Regions from separate parts of the Homo sapiens genome. Here region 1 is linked to region 2. The links are contacts of gene promoters, found by promoter capture Hi-C in blood cells and fetal thymus (Javierre and others, 2016). All regions are on one chromosome and are shown on one strand. Each heading gives the region's core, a stretch centred on a gene start or on the middle of the fragment in contact. The rest is flanking DNA. Distances are from core to core; before and after follow the strand shown. Region 1 overlaps NDUFV2 (NADH:ubiquinone oxidoreductase core subunit V2). Region 2 holds the start of LPIN2 (lipin 2).

Evidence for each region. Contacts are between HindIII fragments. The CHiCAGO score rates a contact against its expected background, and 5 or more counts as called.
Region 1: a contact is called between a fragment that was not itself captured here and the fragment with the promoter of LPIN2 in region 2, in 1 of 17 cell types (total CD4 T cells). The highest score is 8.2, in total CD4 T cells.

Annotation. Positions count from the first base shown.
Region 1 is chr18:9,115,403-9,120,265 of GRCh38, reverse strand. It overlaps NDUFV2 (NADH:ubiquinone oxidoreductase core subunit V2), which reads right to left. Exons shown (of 8, transcript NM_021074.5): 2 at 2,363-2,428; 3 at 878-940; 4 at 676-792. Among named protein-coding and RNA genes, the nearest start is that of NDUFV2, 15 kb to the right of the region's middle. The HindIII fragment of the contact is 3,264 bases long and covers 1,501-4,764 here.
Region 2 is chr18:3,011,301-3,016,409 of GRCh38, reverse strand. It overlaps LPIN2 (lipin 2), which reads left to right and starts at 3,266. Exons shown (of 20, transcript NM_001375808.2): 1 at 3,266-3,323. RefSeq lists a silencer at 2,876-3,825. The HindIII fragment of the contact is 8,581 bases long and covers 779-5,109 here.

The DNA of each region.
Region 1 (4,863 bases), core at 1,883-4,382, 6.1 Mb before region 2:
ATCAAATAGTATGTGGTTTGTGTATGGCACTTTATAAATGATATGCTGTAATACATCACCACACAAATGTAGTTATTTGTATTAACAGGATACGAATAAACTTGAAATTTGTATTACTGCTCAAAACTATTAGGAAAAATGAATATTATATGAATAGAGTAACTTTGAATAAAATGGGTCATCCATAGCATTTCTATAGGTCGTTGATTCCAAAGTAGCATAATCAAATTGTATAAATATCACCTATTATACAGATTTTTCTTACAGCCTACAGCCAAAGATGTAAAATATTAAAAATTTTCATACTAGTGAGCAGATCTTCTTTTCTGTAATTCTAGTGTTTAAATATTACATTAATTTTCAGAATATCTTGACACTAAGTTATACACATTTGGAATCTTTTATCTTTGACCATTTCCTTCAAAAGGAAAAAAAAAAACACATACCCTCTTTCACCATAATGCCTTCCTTATTTCCTGCAAGGTTAGAAATCACCTCTATGCATTAAGGGAATGAACAAAAACACAAAGACAATTCAAGGAAACATACAAATGGCTAAAGGGCTCCAAAATCCTAGATTCTGACACTGGAGATGATCAGAGTAATTTCTATAAAAGGAAATTATCATACACAATCTCTTCTCTTTTAGAACTAAGGCAAAAATGAATCCAGTACCTTGTTCATAGCAGAGATGGGCAACCACCCATTCTGCCTTTGGGCTAAATCCAGGACTGGAAGAACAGCTGCTGCTTTATGGCCTTCTGGATAGTTTTTTACAATTGCCTCTATCCTCTGTATAAAAGAAAGAACATCATTTTATACATCTAGAAAATATTACCTATTTGGTAAATTAATTATAATGTTAATTTAGCCATACCTTATAGTTTTCTGGTGTGAAATCAAATGGAGTATCAGGGTTATTCTCAGGAGTATCTCTGTGCTACACAACAAAAACAGTTTTTCAGACTTATCCAAATTCTCTCAAGTGTGAATGACACTGTACATTACTATACTATTACTTATTGTTTAATCTCTCCATTTTAATTCCAACATGATATATACCACCCTATCCTTCCATCAAAAAGAATGTCTAAACACACATTTGATAAGTATGATTACCAAAGTAAAGTTAGCAGAATTTAAAAATTTACAAAGGACCATTTAAAGAATAAGAGAAGTACCTTTAGGACCAAAAAAACCCAAACAACAAAAAGTGTTATCCAGCTTCATTAGAGAGTAAGATCTTCTGATAGAATTACCAAAACATTACCAATTATTGGAAGCCTTTATGAAATTAAAACACAAAATTTTAAATGTGAACATATGTGTATTTTCCCAAAAGCAAGGTTATCAGATTGTCAAAGGGATCTGGGATCCAAAAGGGTTAAGACCCATTACTTTAGGAGGGTACAAAAGGACCATCTTAAAAAAAAAAAAAAAAAAAAAAAAACAGCACCATCTCTTTCCCACGTTTTCCATAATAGCCAACAGCAAGAAGCTTTATCTCTTCTTAAAAGAGCAGAAGCAGGCCCTCTTCAAAAACTGACAAGAAATGGCATGTCAACAGGAAATCAAATGAGTCACACTGAGATTAACACTTACGATCAATTAATGTTATGTATGTGTGGTGAATACAGAAATGAATCTCTTGATATGTTAACTCTCGGAGTTCTGCTTTTTAAAGGACATAAGCCAAAAGAGGAAAGAAAACAGACACTCTGGACAATGATCTCAAATATGTGGCCAATTTGATGCTTGATATATAGCAGGAAGCTACTTCTTACACCACTAACTCTAAATCATCACACAAGTCCACTATATTGCCTTTATACTAGATTAATCCCTGAAAACAGCACCTTGTCAGAAAAGGGAGATATAATATCTTATCCTTTCCAAATTGTGCAACTAATCTGGGGAGTTCACAGACTTCTATTTATAGTTAAAACTCCGGAAACTAAAAATATAAAGACCAGCTGCTAATCTAGTTACTACATTACTAAAATCCATGAGTTTCAAACTAGTGTCATTTTGGGATTCAACAAGTTACAATCTCCAAACTCTCAGTAAGCCAACATGACTGAGAACCCAAAGTGTGATGAGAATCAGGTTAGGGCTCACACAGTAATTTCACTGGAAATAAATTCTTATTCCCAGAGTTTTCCTGATACTAATTTAAACTCATGAGGTTCAACTGGAACCAACATCTTTTGAAATGTAGTAAATTCAATTAGCTGTATGTAAATTCTCACGATGACCATCATATATCAAAGACAATGGTATTTAAGATATTTTGGATTTTTACAATGGATTTACCCCAATTTCCAAGTCTTTTCTTTCCAAAGAAATCTAAGTAATTACTTACCACAAATAAAGCTCCTCCAGCTCCATTTTGCATAACTGTCTTATGCAAATTCCTTACATGTCTTCCCTAAAATTTAAAATTTTAAGAAAGTTTAGTAAATCATAGCCTTAAAAAATTTTTCATAAAGAAATACTTTAGGATTCATAATTTACAACAATGGAATCAACTTATAAAAGATCTTAAGAAATATGGTATTCTACCCTATCCATCTCTATTTCAGGAGAGTTATTTTACAAATGGAGATTCAAAGCCAAGATTCACCCACCTAACATCACACACACGAGTCAATAGGAGAACCAGGACAACCCAGATCTGCTGACTTGTGTACCTTCCTGCCACGCTCTGCTGGCATGCATTTGGAGAATTAATGTACTATTAACTTCTTGACTTTCACTTTTGTCTGAATCAACTTGGATGCCAGCTTTCACTTAGTGTGAACCTTCATAAACATGTTTTCATTCTGTACAAATGAGTCATATACTCTGTACAAATGAGTCAACTGTATCCTCCTTCCTTTTCAATCCTTTACTAAATTAGTTCTGAAACTCCAGCCGTAAAAAGTAGTTTCTGGCCGGGTGTGGTGGTTCATGCCTGTAATCCCAGCACTTTGGGAGGCTAAGGCAAGGAGATCACGAGGTCAAGAGATCGAGACCATCCTGGCCAACATGGTAAAACCCCATCTCTACTAAGAACACAAAAATTAGCTGGGCGTGGTGGCGCACGCTGGTAGTCCCAGCTACTCGGGAGGCTTAGGCAGGAGAATCGCCTGAACCTGGGAGGCAGAGGTTGCAGTGAGCCGAGATCGCGCCACCGCACTCCAGCCTGAGCAGCAGAGCAAGGCTCCGTCTCAAAAAAAAAAAAAAAAGTAGTTTCAGAAAGCTATTTATGATGCTATGCGGACTGACAATGTTCAGTTGCTTTGGAAGGAATCTGATTATTCTCTCAGCTGCATTTCATTTCTCTTTGCCCTCTTGCTCCTACCCTCCACTCCTACCCTGTCCCCCGCCCCCAAGTATTTCAACTACTGTTCTGGATTCCTCCAATTTCTGAGTTCTACTAACCACAGACGGCAGAACACTGGCTGGGTTAAACCAAGCATGGAACTAGCAAAGAGTTGGACAATTCAAAGGCAAACATAGAAGAAAGTAAACGGAGTAATATAACACAATAGTATATTTAACTTTACCCTAGGTCCAAATGATATTTCAGTTGAAGAAATATTAATAAATAAGTTTACATGGAACATCTGCTTTAATTAACAAGAAAAGACTAAGGTACAGGATGTGAGACACACGTACAAAAGATGGGAGTGATAAATATCAATTTCAGGATAATTGGAAGGCAGGGAGGGATACAGTCAGAGGTGCACAAGGGGGCTTTGATTGTGTTGGTTTTGTTTTGAAAAATTAACTGAAACTAAAATTTAGAAGACAGTCACTGTCATCTTAGCTCAGAAAATTTTTTTAATCGAGTAACAATTTTTGAGTAACATCAGTGAGTTACTTAACTAAATTCTGAGAGAAAAGACTGTATACTTATAATAAAAGGATTAATTTTAAGAGTAGGGAAAGTATTCAGTCTTCTCCTAATTTCTGAACACTAACATTTTCTGTTTATTGGCTTTTTATCCACTCCTTGCAGGCTGTCCTCAGGGCTCAGTTCACACTCCTATCTTCTTTTCTCTATAAAGCCTTTGCCTCTGAGAACTCATCCATTAACTTGACAGTGATGAGTCTTAAATCTTACACACATTTGATGACAAGAGGCTAATAGCCTGAAGAGATCATAAATGCACTTAAAAAATGAGTAAAGATCATGAACAAAAGTTTCACAGAATTCAAACTGCTTACTAGTAACTAAAAACATACAACTTAAAATAACATTACTAGTTATCAAACTACCAAGTATCTTTTTTCTTTTAAGATAGCATTCCATTCTGTTGAGCATATAGAGAAACAAGCACACTTAAAAATTCATATAGCCTTTTAGAAAGCAAATTACCATGATATATGGAAAGCCTAAATAAGTGTCTTTTTTTTTTTTTGGAGACGGAGTTTCGCTCTTGTTGCCCAGGCTGGAGTTCAATGGCATGATCTCGGCTCACCACAACCTCTGCCTCCCGGGTTCAAGCGATTCTCCTACCTCAGCCTCCCAAGTAGCTGAGATTACAGGCATGTGCCACTACGTCTGGATAATTTTTTGTATTTTTAGTAGAGACGGGGTTTCTCCATGTTGGTCAGGCTGGTCTTGAACTCTCGATGTCAAGTGATCTGCCCGCCTCAGCTCCCCAAAGTGGTGGAATTACAGGCGTAAGCCACTGCGCCTGGCCCCAAGTGTCCATTTTTTAATTTAGTAATTCTAACCTAGGTATTTTTCCTGCAGTACAAAATGAGGATAAAGCTTTACATGAAAACATGTTGTTCCTATTATGTTTATTGCAGCAAAAACACAACCTAAAAACCCAATCTGAGCAGGTTTTAACTAAATACTAATAATTCTGA
Region 2 (5,109 bases), core at 2,017-4,516:
GGAGAGAAAATTAGAGAGAAAAGGAGCACACTGGATGCCACGCTAGGGAACTTGGCTTGCTTCGTCAAGACAATGGGTTGCCAACCACCTGTGCCATGGCCAGGTCTGCAATTCAGAGTAGAGGATGCTTAGAATTGGGCAGGACTAGAGGGTAGGGAGACCAGCTGGCATATTCCTACAATGGACCACAAGAGAAATGGCGAGGGCCTAATCACAAGCAGGGGTGAGTGGTGCGACAGAGGACCAAGAGTAGGAATCATGAGGAGGAATAATGAGGAGGAGTGATGGAAACAGCATGGGAGTAGAGGGAAATGAGACTCCCTCCTAGGTTTCTGGCAAGTATGTCTAAACAGATGACAGCGCCATCAGCCAGGATAGGAGATTCAGGTGGAGCAGGTTTGAAGAAGCACAAATAATGGGTTTGAATCTGACATCACTGTGGACCTTGCTGGTTGAGACGTTGAAAGCCACTGAGCACAGGCATGTAGAATTCAGAGGAGTTCCCACTAATGAGGGGAGGAGAGAGTTTCAAGAAGGAAATAATGATCAACAGCATCTTGCCCTGCAGAGATCATGAGGCATGGGACAGGAAAGGGGTCTGTTTTCTTCGGCAACCAGAAGGTCATAGTGACTTTAGCCTGAGCAGTTTCAGGGTTAGAGGAGGAGCAACCCTGTGAAGATGGGAGAAAACCTGAAACTCTTTCAGGTAGCTTGGGTGGGAAGAGAAGCTGTGTGATAAGTCGACAGCCTGAGGGGGAACGGAGGGGCCACAAAAGCTTCTTTTTCAAGTGCAGGAATGAAGCCAGAATTGAGGAAGAGGGGACAATTAGTGGAGTGAGGTTCCTCACCTTGGAGCTGGAAGGTGGTGGGTCAGAGGCCAGTTGAAGGAAGCGCTTTCTTCCTCTGACACTCCAGTGGAGTAGGTGGACCTGGGGTGGCCCCTCCACACTTCCTAGGGCAGGAGGTGAAGGGATTTATCATGCAACAAACATTTAATGAGTCACCACTTAAGTGGTAGTGTAAGCTGGTGGACACGGGAAAATGAGGAAAATATTAGCAATATGAACCAATCGTTCTGAGTGAGGTCTCAAACGCAAGGTTGTTTGGAGGAAGGGAGGGGAGCTCTAGGGCTTCCTGAATGATGAAAGGAAGGAAGGGAGCTTGGCAGAATATTTCCCTCCCAAGGCAGAGATAGAGAAAATAGCCTGAGAGAAACAGGAAAAGTCTAAGTGGGAGAAATGGAAGAAAGGAAAGAAAATAAACGCTAACAGCCTGTTCCAGGTTGCAGACACTAACGTAGGCACTTTATAGGTTATCACGGGGAATCCACAAAACAATTCTGTAAGAAAGACACTACTATCTTTATTTTACTGACGTAGAAACTGAGGATTAAATTCTTTCTCTAGCTTTAATTTTTCTTCTCCATATTTATAAAATCCATTGAATACGGAGGGGGATATTTTAGTCCTCTTCAATTTTTATTTTACTTGTGAAGCCAAGTGAGAAGCAGTGAAATGAGGAAAATTCCTAGTGGTCTTGTGCCAGTGAAACTACCTATGTTTCTGTAGGGCCTTGATTACAGATGGGGCAAAACTTGATCGAGTTTCACAGAAAAGCAGAAGGAACTTCAGTGAAGAAGTGGTCGCCTGCTCCCTGAATCCAAGCACTGCCCAGCTACACCAGGCACTGGTGGGAAGAAACTGGGCTGCAGCTGGATCCTTCAAGGAGCAGCTTTGTGTATGCAAATGCCTATTTCAGTACCCTTAGAACTGTATAAATGATCACACACAAGATGCACCTCATAAATTAACTGCCATTTATATAGAAGTAACATAGGCTTCTGTTCATTACTTTCAATCATAGAATAGTAATAGAATAGGCTGCAAATTAAAAACCAGTGTGCACCAATAGTATATAGCACCAGCAATCCAGTTTTTTTTGTTTTTTTTTTTTTTGAGACAGAGTTTCGCTCCCAGGCTGGAGTGAAGTGGCGCAATCTCTGCTCACTGCAACCTCCGCCCCCCGGGTTCAAGTGATTCTACCGCCTCTGCCTCCTAAGTAGCTGGGATTGCAGCCAACATGCCCGGCTAATTTTTGTATTTTTAGTAGAGGCGGGGTTTTGCCACGTTGGCCAGGCTAGTCTCCAACTCCTGACCTCAGGCGATCGACCCGCCTTGGCCTCCCAAAGTGCTGGGATTACCGGCGTGAGCCACCGCGCCGGGCCCCATTTCTTTTCTTTCTGAGACGGAGTCTCTCTGTCGCCAGGCTGGAGTGCAATAGCGCCATCTCGGCTCACTGCAATCTCCGCCTCCCGGGTTCAACTGATTCTCCTGCCTCAGCCTCCTGAGAAGCTGGGATTACAGGCACGCGCCACCACGCCCGGCTGGTTTTTTGTATTTTTAGTAGAGACGGGGGTTTCACCATGTTGGCCAGGCTGGTCTTGAACTCCTGACCTCAAGTGATCCGCCTGCCTCGGCCTTCCAAAGTGCTAGGATTACAGGCGTGAGCCACCCATTTCTTAAAAAGTATATTTTAATGCTGGGGACGGTGGCTCATGCCTGTAATTCCAGTACTTTGGGAGGCCGAGGTGCGGGGATGCTTGAGCCCAGGAGTTGGAGACCAGCCGGGGTAACAGAGCGATAAAAAGAATAAACAAAAAACAACAGAACCCCGGCATATTTTTAAAAATGAGTTGTGTAATAGGATTTTTTTTTTTTCGGTGGAGATGTAAGTAAGCAAAGGAGATGTGCTACTAGTGATCAAAAGGGGATTATAAAACATTCATTCCCTAGACTTTTTTTGCACTTTAACATTCCTTTTTGGCAATTGGGCTCTCAGTCCCACGTGACCTGCCGCAGGGTTGCCATGGGGACCGGAAGAAACTTTTTTTTTTTAAAACAAAGTAAGGCTCCTGTCGCCCGAGGCACTAGAAAATCGAGGCCCCGCCCTCACTTGGCCAGGGGCCCGGGCGCGCAGCCCAGGGACTGGGAGCGGTGAGAAGCCGCACGCCTGGCGCTCGGCGGCGGGGGCGCGGCGCGCGGCCGGGAGCGCGCGTCACGTGGCTGGGGCGGGGCCTGCGCGCTGCCCGCCCGCCAGCTGCCGGCTCGGCCGCCGCAGCCGCGGCGTCCCATTCATGAGGGCCGCCCGACTCAGCTGCGGCCCAGGCGGCTTCCAAGGCAGCGGCGGCTGCGGGCGCTCCGACCCCGCGCGCGCCCCCGACCGGCCCCGCCCCCTCGGCTTCCCTCCCCGGCGGGTCCTAGCCGTCGCAGTCCAGCCGCCGCCTGCCCTCAGCCGCCCGCTGGCCGGGAGCGGAGCCCCTGTGGGTAAGTGGGCGCGGGCCGGGCTCCTCGCAGGCGTCCCTCCGGGGCTGGCGGTGAGTGTCTGCGCCTGGGGGCTTCCCTTGGCGCGGGCCCGGGGCTGTCCTGCCGGAGGCCGGGACCCTCCGGGGCGGCGCGGGTTGAGCCGCCCCTCCTCGCGCCGCGGTCCCCGCTTCCCGGTCCTCGCGTCCCAGTCCCCGCCTCGCCGCGACCGCGCCACGTAGACGCGGCCCCTACCGCCGCCGCCGCAGGACGGACCGGCGGGGTGCGCGGGGAGCCGGGGGCGTCGGGGCGTCAGTGGTGGCTGCTGAGGACTCTGAACCCGCGCAGTTCCCTCGCCGCCGCCCTGGGGATGGTTACCCGAGACCACCCCTACCCCTGGGTTTGGGGCGCGGAGGGGAGTGCGGAAGGCGCGCGGGAGGCCGCGTCTCCATCCCGCCCCCGGCCCTGCGGGAGGGGGCGCCGGGCACGTGATCTGCGGCGAGGCGGGGGCCGCCGAGTTGCTGGTGTTTCTTCCCCGCCGCGCTTTGCCCCGTACCTCCGCCTTCAAGCTGTGTGGACCGGATTCAAATGTGGTTAGTTTTCTCAAAGCCCCCCAGCCCCCGGTGCAGATCTTAATTTGTGAGGAACACGTTCAGATACAGTTTGTACTGAGAGCCTCTCTGTCCACTTCTAACGCCAGCGGATCACCATTTTCTCCACTCGCCTGAACATTTTAAGACTCTTTTCATTGAAAATTCAAGATGACATTTTTTAGGCATAATTATGCAAACCAGTACCAGAAAGATCACCCTTCCTTTCCGAAAAGTACTGGAACTCTGAATACTTGGAAATGCTTTGAAGGACTACTTAGTAAATGGCCAAACTAATTTTTAATGCACATTTGGGGCTTACCCATTTTTTTTTTAATTGAAAACGAGGCTCTAGACTTGGTGTCAAGGTAGGTCCTGTTGAATGAAGTTCTTTACCCAGTAGTGATGATGGGTGTTACTGTTTATTAAAACTTGGCCTGGCTAGATTATAATGTTTTGACAATACAAAGTCGGTTTTGAAATACATTTTGAAATATTTACGAATTATTTAGTGGCCCATACTGGTTTATGTTTTAACGGTCTGGTGTTGATCGTTCTTAGTGGCTTCAGATTGAGAAGAAGTGGCAGGTGATGCTGAAGCGGGGGAGAAGCGGCAGAGCCGGCCACACAGTGCAGGGGATGGAGACAGGTGCTGGGCTGGTCCTCCTGCAGCATCCTCAGTTGTTGGAGGGCAGTCATCCTCAGGCCGTACCCAGCCAGAGAAGAAAAAGAACAGTGTGAAGCCACGTGTGATAGCCGTCCAACATCGGCTCTTCCCTCCAATTACATTGTAGTTGATTGTGGTATGTCAGACTGAAGTATCTCTTTTATTTCGAGACAGAGTCTCACTCTGTCGCCCAGGCTGGAGTGTAGTTGCGCGATCTCCGATCACTGCAATCTCTGCCTCCTCTGTTAAAGCGATTCTTGTGCCCCAGCCTCCCGAGTAGCTGGGATTACAGGCATGAGCCACCACACTCAGCTAATTTTTGTATTTTTATTAGAGACCGGGGGTTTCACCATGTTGGCCAGGCTGGTCTCGAACTGCCGACCTCAGGTGATCCGCCCCCCTCGGCCTCCCAAAGAGCTGGGATTACAGGCGTGAGCAACCGCCCCAGCCAGACTTAAGGTATCTCCATGCCCAACTTTTGATAGAGGTAGCCATAGAAAGCTAGAAATGAAACGACAGGTTCTGTTTTAACGTTTGATGGCACAGTCGAGAG